5 separate regions of the Homo sapiens genome follow, and all the other regions are linked to region 1. The links are contacts of gene promoters, found by promoter capture Hi-C in human tissues and cell types (Jung and others, 2019). All regions are on one chromosome and are shown on one strand. Each heading gives the region's core, a stretch centred on a gene start or on the middle of the fragment in contact. The rest is flanking DNA. Distances are from core to core; before and after follow the strand shown. Region 1 holds the start of ETV2 (ETS variant transcription factor 2). Region 2 holds the start of CLIP3 (CAP-Gly domain containing linker protein 3). Region 3 overlaps HAMP (hepcidin antimicrobial peptide). Region 4 has its middle 22 kb from the start of SDHAF1. Region 5 holds the start of FFAR1 (free fatty acid receptor 1).

What was found. The method cuts DNA at HindIII sites, captures the fragments that hold promoters and counts their contacts. A contact is called where the count stands out against the background at its distance.
Region 2: the fragment with the promoter of CLIP3 here is called in contact with the fragment with the promoter of ETV2 in region 1 in 2 of the 25 tissues and cell types used here (mesenchymal stem cells and ovary).
Region 3: a fragment that was not itself captured here is called in contact with the fragment with the promoter of ETV2 in region 1 in 2 of the 25 tissues and cell types used here (dorsolateral prefrontal cortex and mesenchymal stem cells).
Region 4: a contact is called between a fragment that was not itself captured here and the fragment with the promoter of ETV2 in region 1, in 1 of the 25 tissues and cell types used here (lymphoblastoid cells).
Region 5: a contact is called between the fragment with the promoter of FFAR1 here and the fragment with the promoter of ETV2 in region 1, in 2 of the 25 tissues and cell types used here (dorsolateral prefrontal cortex and lymphoblastoid cells).

The regions. Positions count from the first base shown.
Region 1 is chr19:35,640,374-35,643,241 of GRCh38, forward strand. ETV2 (ETS variant transcription factor 2) reads left to right here and starts at 1,372. Exons shown (of 7, transcript NM_014209.4): 1 at 1,372-1,783; 2 at 2,061-2,157; 3 at 2,242-2,325; 4 at 2,592-2,672. The coding sequence starts at 2,088. RefSeq lists an enhancer at 1,528-2,243. The HindIII fragment of the contact is 9,443 bases long and covers 384-2,868 here.
Region 2 is chr19:36,031,477-36,034,344 of GRCh38, forward strand. It overlaps CLIP3 (CAP-Gly domain containing linker protein 3), which reads right to left and starts at 1,397. Exons shown (of 14, transcript NM_015526.3): 1 at 1,248-1,397; 2 at 716-939. The coding sequence starts at 881. The region is part of intron 3 of LOC101927572 (a long non-coding RNA gene); the gene reads left to right. The HindIII fragment of the contact is 12,641 bases long and covers 1-2,868 here.
Region 3 is chr19:35,283,557-35,286,424 of GRCh38, forward strand. It overlaps HAMP (hepcidin antimicrobial peptide), which reads left to right. Exons shown (of 3, transcript NM_021175.4): 2 at 1,233-1,292; 3 at 1,382-1,587. The coding sequence ends at 1,486. Among named protein-coding and RNA genes, the nearest start is that of HAMP, 2.5 kb to the left of the region's middle. The HindIII fragment of the contact is 4,818 bases long and covers 1-2,868 here.
Region 4 is chr19:35,971,952-35,974,819 of GRCh38, forward strand. No RefSeq gene overlaps it. Among named protein-coding and RNA genes, the nearest start is that of SDHAF1, 22 kb to the right of the region's middle. RefSeq lists a silencer at 1,603-1,803. The HindIII fragment of the contact is 9,546 bases long and covers 1-2,868 here.
Region 5 is chr19:35,346,652-35,349,519 of GRCh38, forward strand. FFAR1 (free fatty acid receptor 1) reads left to right here and starts at 1,251. Exons shown (of 2, transcript NM_005303.3): 1 at 1,251-2,868. It overlaps CD22 (CD22 molecule), which reads left to right. Exons shown (of 14, transcript NM_001771.4): 14 at 1-710. The coding sequence ends at 46. RefSeq lists enhancers at 323-422, 1,023-1,102 and a silencer at 2,381-2,581. The HindIII fragment of the contact is 9,647 bases long and covers 1-2,868 here.

The sequences.
Region 1 (2,868 bases), core at 122-2,621:
AGCTTGAGGCCAGGAGTTTGAGACCAGCCTGGCCAACATGGCAAAACCCCATCTCTACTAAAAATGCAAAAATTAGCCTAGGCATGGTGGCTCACGCCTGTAATCCCAGCACTTTGGGAGACCGAGGCAAGTGGATCACTTGAGGTCAGGAGTTCGAGACCAGCCTGGCCAACATGGCAAAACCCCATCTCTACTAAAAATGCAAAAAATTAGCCGGGCATGGTGGTGCTTGCCTGTAATCCCAGCTACTTGGAAGGCTGAGGCACCAGAATTGCTTGAACCCGGGAGGCAGAGGTTGCAGTGAGCTGAGATCGCACCACTGCACTCCAGCCTGGGCGACAGAGTGAGACTCCATCTCGAAAAATATTTTATATATATATAGGACACCCAGTTATTGAATTTTACGTGAACAATTTTATAGTTTAGGTATGTCCTAAATATTTCATGTATGTATGTATATGTTACATGTATAGCTGTGGTTTTTTGTTGTTTTTTGCTGAATTATTTGAGCAAGTTACAGACTTTTTTTTTGTTGTTTCTTTTTTTGAGATGAAGTTTCGCTCTTGTTCCCCAGGCTGGAGTGCAATGGCATGATCTTGGCTCACTGCAACCTCCATCTCCCTGGTTCAAGCAATTCTCCTGCCTCAGCCTCCCGAGTAGCTGGGATTACAAGCACCCGCCACCACGCCTGGCTAATTTTTTGTATTTTTAGTAGAGACAGGGTTTCACCATGTTGGACAGGCTGATCTAGAACTCCTGACCTCAGATGATCCACCCGCCTCAGCCTCCCAAAGTGCTGGGATTACAGGCGTGAATCACCGCGCCCAACCACAAGTTACAGACATTATAACATTTCATCTCTGAGTTCATTTTCTAAATGATATCTTTCCTCCTGAATACCATTATCAAATCTAAGAAAAGAATTCTATGATATTTCATATTCAGTTCATACTCCAGTTTCCCCAATTGTCCTAAACTATTACAGCGCGGAAGGGCATGGGGTCTGGAGAAGGAGAGCAGTGGGAGGATGCCTGCCTTACCTTCCCCCTTCATCAAATGAGAGTATGTATTGTACTTGCCTCATAGAAGGATTCAATGAAGGGGTATGGCACAGTTGGTTTCACACAATGAGCCCTCATTTAATGTTGGCCGTTATTGCTACTATTGTTATTGTTGAAATTGTTGATGTCAATATTGCTATGATTGGCACTCCTGGGAAGCAGCCCCAGGACGCCCTCCCTACTGGGCCTGGTGGAGGATTGGGTGGGCCTTCACTCCTGCTCCACGCCCCCGCAGTTACTCTGCCGATTGTGACGTCAGCTGACGCTGGGGGCGGGTGGGGGAATCTGGCCGGAAATCCCTCTTCCTGTTGCAGATAAGCCCAGCTTAGCCCAGCTGACCCCAGACCCTCTCCCCTCACTCCCCCCATGTCGCAGGATCGAGACCCTGAGGCAGACAGCCCGTTCACCAAGCCCCCCGCCCCGCCCCCATCACCCCGTAAACTTCTCCCAGCCTCCGCCCTGCCCTCACCCAGCCCGCTGTTCCCCAAGCCTCGCTCCAAGCCCACGCCACCCCTGCAGCAGGGCAGCCCCAGAGGCCAGCACCTATCCCCGAGGCTGGGGTCGAGGCTCGGCCCCGCCCCTGCCTCTGCAACTTGAGCCTGGCTGCGACCCCTGCTCTGACGTCTCGGAAAATTCCCCCTTGCCCAGGCCCTTGGGGGAGGGGGTGCATGGTATGAAATGGGGCTGAGACCCCCGGCTGGGGGCAGAGGAACCCGCCAGAGGTGAGCGATGAACTGAGGACTAGATGCCTGGGTGTCTGGGTTAGGAAGGACCTGGGGGACTAGACTCCCAAGAAGCCGGGGGCCTGGACTCCTGGGTCTAACAGAGGAAGAGAGCTGGGGTCCCTCACTCCCAGGACCAAGATTTTAGGCTCCTGGGGAAGGAGGGAGCGGAGGCCTGGACTCCTGGCTCTGAGGGAAGCTAGGGCTGGGGCCCAGACTCCAGGGCCTCCAAGTGTCACCAGCTCACCCATTGCCATCTGGACTTTTCCCGACCCAGAACATTCAGAAGGCCTTCATCGCATCCATGGACCTGTGGAACTGGGATGAGGCATCCCCACAGGAAGTGCCTCCAGGGAACAAGCTGGCAGGGCTTGGTAGGCTGCCGAGGCTGCCACAACGTGTGTGGGGAGGGTGTCCAGGTGGGGCCTCTGCTGACCCTAACCCCTTATCGCCTGCAGAAGGAGCCAAATTAGGCTTCTGTTTCCCTGATCTGGCACTCCAAGGGGACACGCCGACAGCGACAGCAGAGACATGCTGGAAAGGTGGCTGCGGGCTGGGACCCCTAAGTGCTGGAGAAGAAGCGGGGAGGCTGGGATCCTAGGGCAAAGGGAGGAGGGGGGCGTGCCTAGGTTCCTGGGACTGGGTGGGGAGGGGCCGCGTGCTTGACCCCTGAGGGTGAAGGAAAAGGGGGCGCGGGGTGCTGAAATACGGGCTGGGGGGCCATAACTCCCAGTCCCTGACAAGTAGAGACTAGAGAGTGGGTAGTTGAGGGGTCTCTTTCATTGCTCACAGTCCTCCCTAAACTCAGGTACAAGCTCATCCCTGGCAAGCTTCCCACAGCTGGACTGGGGCTCCGCGTTACTGCACCCAGAAGTTCCATGGGGGGCGGGTGAGTGTGGGGAGAGGCGGTGGGAGGTGGGGACTGGGGTCCCGAGGCACCGGGGCTAGAGGTGTAGACTCCCTGATCTTTGAGGACTGAGAACACCTGCGCCCTCAAGGTGGCATGACCTGGATCCGGGTCAGCCGGGCCCCAAGTGCCAGGGTTGAGAGCTTAGACCCTAGAGTTTTTGAGGGGGCACCTGGGC
Region 2 (2,868 bases), core at 147-2,646, 390 kb after region 1:
ACAGAGTAGCAGCACTCGATAAATATCGCTCGGTCAATGATTAGACACTTTCAGTTTCTCCAAGAGGCCGCCCTCTCAGCTCCATACCCTCCTACCTCAGATCCTTTACCCAGCGGTTACCTCTCCTGGGAGCCCTTTCCCCTGACCCTTCTCTTAGTTAACCCCAACTCACCCTCCAGTCTTCTCAACTGTAACCTCCTCAGGGAAACAATGTCTTAAAAAACTCTTGCAGCAGCTTGTTTATGGTAAATACAATTTTCATAATGTCTTGTAATTACATATTTATATTACATTATATTTTTCTTTCTTGCATATAAACCTAAATGTGAAAAATTACATTATGGTTTAATACCTATTTGTGTGGCTGTTACTGAGGCCTGTGAGTTGTCTCAGGGCAAAGACTGGGTCTCTCTTGCCCCCTGCTGTGGCCCCAGCCCCTAGCATAAAGCCAGGTCCACAGCCGCTTTCAAAAAATGATTGTTGAATGACTAAATGATGGAATGATGTGTCATGAGTCAAAGACTAGGAGTATTACAATTCCATTCTCCAATGGGTGAATGAATGAATTAACGAGGGGTGCTCTGCAGCCAAGATTCCTCTGGACCACCTTCAAATTCCCCAGAATTCTCCCACCATCACCACCAGCAGAGCACAGCCCACCCTCCCCGGCCACCCAACGCTCCAGGCCAGATTCCAGGGTGGGGACAGTGGTTACCGTAGTCCTTAGGGAGGGGGGCAGGTGCCGAGGGGTGCACAACAGGCTTCTGCCGGCGCTCCTGGGTGGGGCTGGGGGCCTCGGGGACGGGTTCATCCTCCTCCTCCTCTTCTTCCTCCTCTCCTCGGGGTGGCGGGGCCATCGGGGCAGGATCTGTCTTAGTCATGGTCCTCGGTGGCCCTCGGGGGGCGGGTGCAGAGTTGGGGGCAGCCTTCAGGCAAATCCTGGAGGCAGAGGTCAGCTGGAGAGGGTGCCCGGCAGGCTCCAGGGTCCAAGCCCCTAGGAGCTTCCAGGGCCCCGGGTGGCCTCCGCGCAACTGGATCTTGGGCAACCATAGGGACCCCCGTTACCCATAGAGGGCCCCGGTGTGTGCGCCCAGCGCCTGCCACCTCCCCCAGGCCCAGCCCCCCATTCTTCTCCTCCCGCGTCAGGCCCCTCAGTCGCGGCTGCCCCCTCCCCGGGTTTGTTTATCTCGGGATTCAGGATGCTTCGCCCCTCCCCTTCTCCGCGGGCCGCCCCCTCCCCATCTTACCTCGGGCAGACAGCGCTGGGGACCAAAGTGGAGACTGGGGAGACTGTGGGAGCAATGGGGTGTCGGTGTCAGGGGACGTGATGGGGGAGGCAAGGGAGACAGAGAGAAGGGGACGAGGCCCAGACGCCGACAGGGGGTGGGGGCGGAGAGGGAGGGGCGCGACTGCGCATGCGCCTGCTGCCCCCCTACCGGCGGCGGGGGAGGAGGGACCAGGAGGAGGGACCGGGAGGCGCTCGCATTGATGGAGGGGCCAGAGGCGGCGACTGAAAGGGGAGAGCCTCCGGGCACTGGGAGAGGAAGAGATGGCTACGGAAAGGAGCGAGATGAGCAGATACAACGGCAAAAGAGAGGGCTGAGAGAGCGGACACAGATCTTCTCCATCCCCTTCCCCCACGCCTGCAAACCAGGCCGGTGAGGGCAGTGGTCTTGGGGCGTGGTGACGATGGGGACCCTCTAGGGGACCCTCTCTCTAGGACCCTAGACCGGACCCCTTCTCCAAGCTCACCATTCATAATGGGTGCCTCAGAGGGGTGATTTCCTAGAGACTCCTATCATGATCATCTCATCCTTACCATCATAATGCGAGGCTCACACACTGGGGCCCAGAGGTTAAGCAGCTTGCCCAAAAGTACATGAGTAGGTGATGGAGCGAACATTTGAAACCAGACAGTCTGTAAAGTCTGATTTTTATTTTTATTATTTCCTAGACAGGGTCTCACTCTGTCACCCAGGCTACTGTGCAGTGTTGTGATCTTGGCTCACTGCAGCGTCAAACTTCTGGGCTCAAGCCATCCTCCCACCTCAACCTCCCGAGTAGCCGAGACCACACGTGCATGCCACCATGTCTGGAGAATTTTTTTTGAGACAGGGTTTTGCCATGTTGCCCAGGCTGGTCTTGAACTCCTGACCTCAAGGGATCCTCCTGCCCCTGCCACCCAAAGCGCTGAGATTACAGGCACGAGTCACCATGCCCAGCTTTGATTCTTAATCACCATGCTACATGCCTGTAGCAGTGTCTGGGAAACAGATCTGCCGATTGACCCCTCCAACTCTCTCAGAACCTGTATCTTCCCCACGGAGGCCTCCTGAAGCCAGCCCAGGGTCCTGGCTCCATTGTCATGGCTTGGCTTCCCACCTGGAGCTGTAGCCTGCTCTGCCTCAAATCATCCCAGCCTGGATGGGGCTGGGTGACAGCCTTGAACACCTCATCCTTCTAATGCACAGGTCCAGTAGCTCCATCTCCAAAAGATTTCCAGGATCTCACTCTCCCCACCGCTACCCTGGGCCCTCATCTTGGTCCATCCTTCTTCTTCTGCCACCAGCACTACGGCAGCAGCCTCTTACCTGCTGTCCCCGTCCTCCTCCAACATGCAGCCACAGGGACCCATGAACACCTGTCACTTTGGAGCCCTCTTTCCCTCAGAGGGGTCTGCCTGCTGCACCTCACTCCAGGTAGAAGCCAAGGCTCTCAGCCATGGCCCACAAGGGCCTATGTGAACCTGCCCCATCATCTCTGCACTCACCTCCTCTCACCCTCTTTTGTTCACTCCACCCCAGCCACACTGGCCTCCTTGCTTCTCCCTACCCCAGGACCTTTGCACTGGCTCTTTTTTTTTTTTTT
Region 3 (2,868 bases), core at 157-2,656, 360 kb before region 1:
GGCTGGCAGTCAAGCAAGTGTTTCATGAGAAAGTGACAGTTGACCTTCGTCTTGGAGGGTGAGAGATGGAGGCAGCAAAGACCTAAGGAGAGGACAAGCCAGCATAGCCCAGGGTCAGGCTGAACAAGAGGAGATGGTGGGACTTGGGGATAAGGCTGAGGGGTGGGCAGTCCCTAAGTCTTGTGGGCAACCATGCAGACACTGATTTTTCCTTGGAATAAAGAGGAAGCCCCCATAAGCTTTTTTTTTTTTTTCTGAGATAGGGTCTCGCTCTGTCGTTCAGGCTGGTGTGCAGTGGCATCATCTGGGCTCACTGCAACCTCCGCCTCCCGGGTTCAAGCAATTCTCCTGCCTCAGCTTCCCGAGCAGCTGGGATTACAGGCGGCTGCCACCACGCCCGGCTAATTTTTGTTTTTTTAGTAGAGACAGGGTTTCACCATGTTGGCCAGACTGGTCTTGAACTCCTGACCTCAGGTGATTCTCCCACCTCGGCTTCCCAAAGTGCTGGGATTACAGGCGTGAGCCACTGCGCCCAGCCTCCTGTAGGTTTTTAAAATGGAGAAAACCACAATCTCACTGGCCATGTTTTAAAAAACTTAATCTGCCAGTCAGGCACCATGGCTCACACCTGTAATCCCAGAGTTTTGGGAGGCCAAGGTAGGAAGATCAGTTGAGCCCAGGAGTTCAAGACCAGCTTGGGCAACACAACCAGACCCCACCTCTACAAAAAATTAAAAAATTAGCCGGGTGTGGTGGCGTGCACCTGCTGTCCCAGCTACTCGGGAAGCTGAGGCGGGAGCATCGCTTGAGCACAGGAGGTCAAGGCTGCAGGGAGCTATGACTGTGCCACTGCACTCTGGCCTGGGCAACAGAGGAAGACTCTGTCTAAAAAACAAACAAAAAAAGTGACTCTGCTGTGTGGCAAATGGATTGAGGGGCAAGAATGCAGGGAGGTGTGTTAGGAGGCTGGCACTGGCATCCAGGCAGGGGAAGGTGATATCCCAAAGAAGAGTAGCAGCTGTGGAAAGAGGAGGAGGCGGATCTGGGAGGTTTTTTTTTTTAGGAAAAGCCGCCCATGGGAAGGTGAGCAGAAGCAAGAAAGCAAGGCCCCTCCTAAGAGTCCATTTGAGCTCTGGGTTTAAACCACTTGGAGAGGAGCAGGTTGCCGGGAGCCAGTCTCAGAGGTCCACTGGGCCCCCTGCCATCCTCTGCACCCCCTTCTGCTTTCACAGACGGGACAACTTGCAGAGCTGCAACCCCAGGACAGAGCTGGAGCCAGGGCCAGCTGGATGGTGAGCGCAACAGTGATGCCTTTCCTAGCCCCCTGCTCCCTCCCCATGCTAAGGCCGGTTCCCTGCTCACATTCCCTTCCTTCCCACAGCCCATGTTCCAGAGGCGAAGGAGGCGAGACACCCACTTCCCCATCTGCATTTTCTGCTGCGGCTGCTGTCATCGATCAAAGTGTGGGATGTGCTGCAAGACGTAGAACCTACCTGCCCTGCCCCCGTCCCCTCCCTTCCTTATTTATTCCTGCTGCCCCAGAACATAGGTCTTGGAATAAAATGGCTGGTTCTTTTGTTTTCCAAACCAGAGTGTCTGTTGTCCTTTCTCTCTGCCGAGTGTCTGTGCTAAGAGCTTGTCCTGACCCTGCCTTGCAAGCACCAGTGCTTGGTGGGTCATGTGGGGCTGGTGTGTCCTGGAGGTTGCCAGGAAAGTTGGTGAAGAAAATTTGTTTCTGTTCTCCCCCTTCATGTTGCAATAATAGGGGATGAAAGTTAATGTTTCCTCTCCTTGAGATCTTCCTAAAACAGCTGTAGAAATCAGTGCCTGTAAGGCAAGCTTGTCCAACCTGGAGGCCACATGCAGCCCTGGATGGCTTTGAATGCACCCAACACAAATTTGTAGTTTCTTAAGGCATTATGAGATTTTTCCGCAATTTTTTTTTTTCTCATCAGCTGTCATTAGTGTTAGTGTGTTTTATGTGTGGCCCAAGACAATTCTTCCAGTGTGGCCCAGGGAAGCCAAAACATTGGACACTGCTATAAAGGTTCTCAAAGTAAGATCCAGGGACTCCTTTTGTAGGGCTCCTGAAGGTGGAAACTACTAAGACTTTTTTTTTCCTTTTTTTTTCCTTTTTTTTCTTTCTTTTTTTTTTTTTTTTGAGGCAGAGTCTCTCTGTGTCACCCAGGCTGGAGGGCAGTGGCATGATCTTGGCTCACTGCAACCTCCACCTCCCAGGTTCAAGCGATTCCCCTGCCTCAGCCTCCTGAATAGCTGGGACTACAGGCACGTGCCACCACACCTGGCTAATTTTTGTATTTTTAGTAGAGGTGGGGTTTTGCCATGTTGTCCAGGCTGGTCTCGAACTCCTGACCTCAAGTGATCCACCCGTCTCAGTCTCCCAAAGTGCTGAGATTACAGGTGTGAGCCACCACGCCCGGCCTACAAAGATGTTTATTTGCCTTTTTCACCCTGGTTCTCTCATGAGTATACAATGGAGTTTCCAGGAGGCTCTGCGACACCTGTTGGCATCATCACCAGATGGCTAATGGATTGTGTGCTGGTGTATCTCACGCTTTTAAATGTCCCAGTTTCTAGCCCGGTGCAGTTGCACCATCCCTGCTACTCGGGAGGCTGAGGCAGGAGGATAATTTAAGACTGGGAGTTCCAGAAGAAGACCTGGTGTCAAAAAAAAAAAAAATGGGGCAACGAAAATGAGAGCAATACAGCTTTCAAGAATGGGAGGGGCCAGGGGTGGTGATTCATGCCTACAGCACTTTGGGTGGCTGAGGCAGGCAGATCACTTGAGGTCAGGAGTTCAAGACCAGCCTGGCCAACATGGTGAAACACCGTCTCTACAAAAATTAG
Region 4 (2,868 bases), core at 231-2,730, 330 kb after region 1:
GCACATGCCACCACACTCGGATAATTTTTGTGTTTTTAGTAGACACGGGGTTTCACTATGTTGGCCAGGCTGGTCTGGAACTCTTGACCTCAGGTGATCCACCTGCCTCAGCCTCCCAAAGTGCTGGGATTACAGGCGTGAGCCACTGCGCCCTGCCAAGATTTGGGCAGGGACAAATAGCCAAACTATATCAGACACTAACAACATCCCTGTGGCTGCCAGTTGAGAACAGATTACAGGGCTTGTGAAGGAATGAGGCCTGGAGGAACAACAGTGAGGAGGCTGCTGCAGTAGTCCCGGCAGGAGACAATGGGGCTTGGACCAGGGTGGGGCAGTGAACGCAGGAGAAATGTGGGCTGGAAACCACCAAGTGAGGCAAAATAAGGAAATCATGGACTGGGAGAAAGGAGGTACCCCTTGATCTGGAAGGACAGGTGGAGGCTCTTGGTAATGGGGGAAGCCCTTGGGTCCTGTCTGAAGGCTCTCCTGTTTACTGGATGAGGTGGGCACACCTGGCTCCTTGGTAGGATTACTCATCTAGATTCCTGAGAAGAGGACTTGCAAGTATTGTGTTAGGACAAATCTGGATATTGAAATCAAGACTCCCAGTTTAAAAAAAAAAAAAAAGAAGGCCGGGCACAGTGGCTCACGCCTGTAATCCCAACACTTTGGGAGGCCAAGGCGGGCGGATCACGAGGTCAGGAGTTCAAAACCAGCCTGACCAACATGGTGAAACCCTGTCTCTACTAAAACTACAAAAATTAGCTTGGCATGGTAGTGCACGCCTGTAATCCCAGCTACTCAGGAGGCTGAGAGAGCAGAATTGCTTGAACCTGGGAGGTGGAGGTTGCAGTGAGCCAAGATCTCGCCACTGCATTCCAGCCTGGGAGACAGAGCGAGACTCTGTCTCAAAAAAAAAAAAAAAAAAAAAAAAGATTCCCGGATAGAGGCTGGGCATGGTGGCTCACATCTACAATCCCAGCACTTTAGGAGGCCAAGGTGGGCAGACTGCTTGAGCTCAGGAGTTCCAGACCAGCCTGGGCAACATGACGAAACCTCGTCTCTACTTAAACACACACACACACACACACACACACACACACACACACACACACACACACACACAGAAAGATTCTTGGTTAGCTGGGCACGGTGGCTCACACCTGTAATCACAGCACTTTGGGAGGCCAAGGTGGGCGGATCACAAGGTCAGGAGATCGAGACCATCCTGGCTAGCACAGTGAAACCCTGTCTCTACTAAAAATACAAAAAATTACGGGGCGTGGTGGCAGGCGCCTGTAGTCCCAGCTACTGGGGAGGCTGAGACAGGAGAATGGCGTGAACCCAGGAGACGGAGCTTGCAGTGAGCCGAGACTGTGCCACTGCACTCCAACCTGGGCGGCAGGGTGAGACTCTGTCTCGAAAAAAAAAAAAAGAAGAAGAAGAAGAAAAAGAAAGATTCTTGGTTAGTAGACGAGGGTGGGGCATCCTAGATCTGCAAAGGCCCCACTCTCAATATCCCAGAATCCAACCCCCTCAACCTCCTTATCCTCCACCCCTCCCCGATGCTCAGGAATTCAGCCCCTCTGAAGACCCCAGCTCTTGGTCACTCCTGCAGGGGAACCCACAGCAGCTGGGGCTGTCAGTTATCCTGGGCGACAGATGGCTATGGTTGTACTTCCACACCTCAGAACCATGGGCAGAGGCAGGTCTGGAGCAAGAACCGCCCACACTGCATCTCTTTTACAACCGGCAGCACACACGTCACTGCACGTGGCTGAAGGTTGCCACTCACACAAGGCAGACTGTGCAGTGACTTCATTCAGGCAGGACCATGACATGGGCAGTCCAGATCCACTGGTCTTCGTGCATTTGGGCCCCGCAGCCACCTGATACCCTGAGCCAAGCCTTAGTCCCCACAGGAGACTGGGGGCCCTGTGCTGTCCCTGTAGCCCCAAAGGGGCCCCTTAGCCACTGCCACCAAGTGTGACACCTACACCCTTCGAGGCCAGTGCCGTGCCTGGATATGCCCCTTCCCCAGCTCCCTGCCTACGCTTTGGGAGTGCTTCCATGTCTGTGTACACCCTGTCAGGCCTCAGTGTCAACACTGAGCCCTCGAGCTTCTGGGCTGGCTGCCGTGAGTGACCCTTCAAGGGAAAGGGTTATAGGCTGCTGGGTAAAGGGGATTCTGGGACTTAGGAATGACACTCCTTAGTTCTGGAGGCTGATTCCTGGGGCAAGGGTGTAGGGTCCCTGGAAGGGGACAGCCTCTGGGTCCTGGGGGCAAGACTGCTGAGTTGGGGGGTGCGGGGAAAATAATTCTAGGGCCCAGAGACAGGGCTCTTTGGGTCTGGGGCCAGGGCTTCTGGGTCCTGGGCATGGGAACAACTTGGCTATAGGGCTGGGACTGCTGGGTTCTCAAGTTCTAGAGACTAGAACACCTAGGTGGTGACAACTCCAGTATCTGGGGTGAGCGCTCTGAGTCCCAGAGCCAGACTTATTTATTTATTTAGACAGGATGTCACTCTGTTGTTTATTTAGACAGGGTATCACTCTGTTGCCAAGGCTGGAGTGCAGTGGTACTATCATAGCTCACTGCAGCCTCAACCTCCCAGGCTCAAGCCATCCTCCCTCCTCAGCTTCCCAAGTATCTGGGACCACGGGCATGTGCCACTATGCCCAGATAATTTTTTAATTTTTTTTGTAAAGATGAGGTCTTCCTATGTTGCCCAGGCTGGTCTCTAATTCCTGAGCTCAAGTGATCCTCCCACCTTGGCCTCCCAAAATGCTGGGATTACAGATGTGAGCCACTACGCCTGTCCCAGAGCCAGACTTCTATGTTCTGGGGAGTGGACTTCTGGTTTCTTA
Region 5 (2,868 bases), core at 1-2,500, 290 kb before region 1:
GCCTCAGGCACAAGAAAATGTGGACTATGTGATCCTCAAACATTGACACTGGATGGGCTGCAGCAGAGGCACTGGGGGCAGCGGGGGCCAGGGAAGTCCCCGAGTTTCCCCAGACACCGCCACATGGCTTCCTCCTGCGCGCATGTGCGCACACACACACACACACGCACACACACACACACACACTCACTGCGGAGAACCTTGTGCCTGGCTCAGAGCCAGTCTTTTTGGTGAGGGTAACCCCAAACCTCCAAAACTCCTGCCCCTGTTCTCTTCCACTCTCCTTGCTACCCAGAAATCCATCTAAATACCTGCCCTGACATGCACACCTCCCCCTGCCCCCACCACGGCCACTGGCCATCTCCACCCCCAGCTGCTTGTGTCCCTCCTGGGATCTGCTCGTCATCATTTTTCCTTCCCTTCTCCATCTCTCTGGCCCTCTACCCCTGATCTGACATCCCCACTCACGAATATTATGCCCAGTTTCTGCCTCTGAGGGAAAGCCCAGAAAAGGACAGAAACGAAGTAGAAAGGGGCCCAGTCCTGGCCTGGCTTCTCCTTTGGAAGTGAGGCATTGCACGGGGAGACGTACGTATCAGCGGCCCCTTGACTCTGGGGACTCCGGGTTTGAGATGGACACACTGGTGTGGATTAACCTGCCAGGGAGACAGAGCTCACAATAAAAATGGCTCAGATGCCACTTCAAAGAACCAGTGAACTCTTTTCAGTCTGTGGAGTCAGAGTGGGGATGAGGAGAGGGGAAAGTCTTCATGGGGCCTGGGGGGAAGGAAATGGAGTCACAGTGGTTTACTGATCAAACCAGCAGATTAGAGAGTCTGGTGTCTTGTTAGGAAAAGCATACTGGCTTTGCAGACAGACAAACATGAGAACTTGAATCTTGATTCTTCGGCTTAACTAGCCCGGTGATCTTGGCAGGGCTCGCCAGCTTGCCTGAGTCTCGGCTTCTCCATCTGTAAAGTGGAGAGGGAAAGGCCACTGCCTACCACGCAGGTGGCCCACGATAGGAAGTGAGGCATCGTCTTCTATATGCTGGAGCCACATTGAGACCCAGCACAGAAGCCGAAAGTCCCCCAGAAAACCAACCTCCATCCTTTATTTGCATTTTTCGAAGAATGTGAAAAGGGGAAGCCGATTCAAAACAGCTCTTCCCAAAAGTGACGCTACCCAATTCTTGCACAACCCATAGCTGCCAGAGAAAGTCTTGAAGACCAGCCACCCTGAGAAACCTCACAGCTTTTCTGTCATTCGAGGTCCTCTGCACCCGTTCTCTAATTCTGTTCACTGATTCAGACTTTCCAGTTAGGTGCCCCAGCTCCCCTCTCCGCTTCTCGGGTTTGATCTTTCTCCACCCATTCACCTGCTTCTGCAAAGGGGCTAAAGCCCATTCTCCTTAGAGGGCAGGGGTGTAATTATCTGATCATCAGGGAGATTGGCTCCTGGCACGTGGCAGGTGTCCCCAAACTGCCACCTTCCTCTCCCACCTTCCTTTCCCTCCCATCTCTGCTCAGTACCCGGACGGTAACTCTAGGAATTATGGTTCAGGGAGGCCTTGATCGCCCCATCAATCCACTTTGTCCCTGGTTTGATTCTTGTGAGCACCATTAACTTTTCTGGAGGAAGGTGAGGCTTTAAGAACTGTTTAAAGCCCAGGCGTGGTGGATCACGCCTGTAATCACAGCACTCTGGGAGGCCAAGGTGGGCAGATCACCTGAGGTCAGGAGTTCAAGACCAGCCTAGCCAACATGGTAAAATCCTGTCTCTACCAAAAATACAAAAATTAGCTGAGCGTGGTGATTCACACCTGTAATCTCAGCTACTTGGGAGGCTGAGGCAGGAGAGTCGCTTGAACCTGGGAGGCGGAGGTAGCGGTGAGCCGAGATCACGCCACTGCACTCCAGCCTATGCAACAGAGTGAGACTCCGCCTCAAAACAACAACAACAAAAACTGTTTAAATGAGACAGGAGGGTGTTGGGGTGTCTGTGCCCAAAATGGGGTCTGGTGTCATTCAACTCTTTCTTCATTCATTCTGCACACAGATACTGAGCACCTGGAAATGCACCCAGTACAGAGCCAGTTGTTAGGACACCAAAAAGATAAGGCGTAGGACCAACCTTGGGGATCTCTAGTCGAGAGCCGCCAAGGGTTTTTAAGGCAAGATACCCTGGAGGGAGCTGAGGCAGTCCTAAGCCTGAAGGGCCTGGCTTAAGCTCCCTGGCAACCATCGAGCATCTTCCCCTTCCCACCCTGTCCCTCAGCACAGCTGCTGACATAAACCTACTACATGGCTGATTGACCATGAGATATGGCCATCAATAGACATTGCTGAGGCGTGAAGAGCAGGTGAAGAGCAGGTGGCCAGGAAGCTAGGGGGCCAGGACTCCAGACGCAGGCCGCCCTCCACAACCCCAGCTCTCACAGTCCTCCCAGGGTCCAGACAATGGATCGTGCATTTAGGTTCCCAAACACCTGCTGTGCAACGTGTAGTAGACAAAGCAGACCAAAGCCTTTGCCCTCAGGAGGCCGGCATTCTAGCTCAGGAGCCAGCCAAGACGATGTCGCACTGAAGAAAGACAACAAAAGTGAGATTCACAGGAGGGATGAGTGTGGCTGAGGCACCCGGGAAGGCCCTCGGAGAAGGTGACCTTGGGCAAAGATCCAGACGCCAGGTGGGTGGGGCCAAAGCAGAGAAGATCTGGAAAACCCAATGGCTCCCCAGGGCTTCGCTCTTGCTGCAGGAGGGGAAACCACACTGCTGTGGATTCTTCCTCCATTCTGTCCATTTCTCAGTTCCCAACAACACACTGAACAGTAGGAGGCCAGTTCTCCGCTCACAGCGGGCGCTGCAC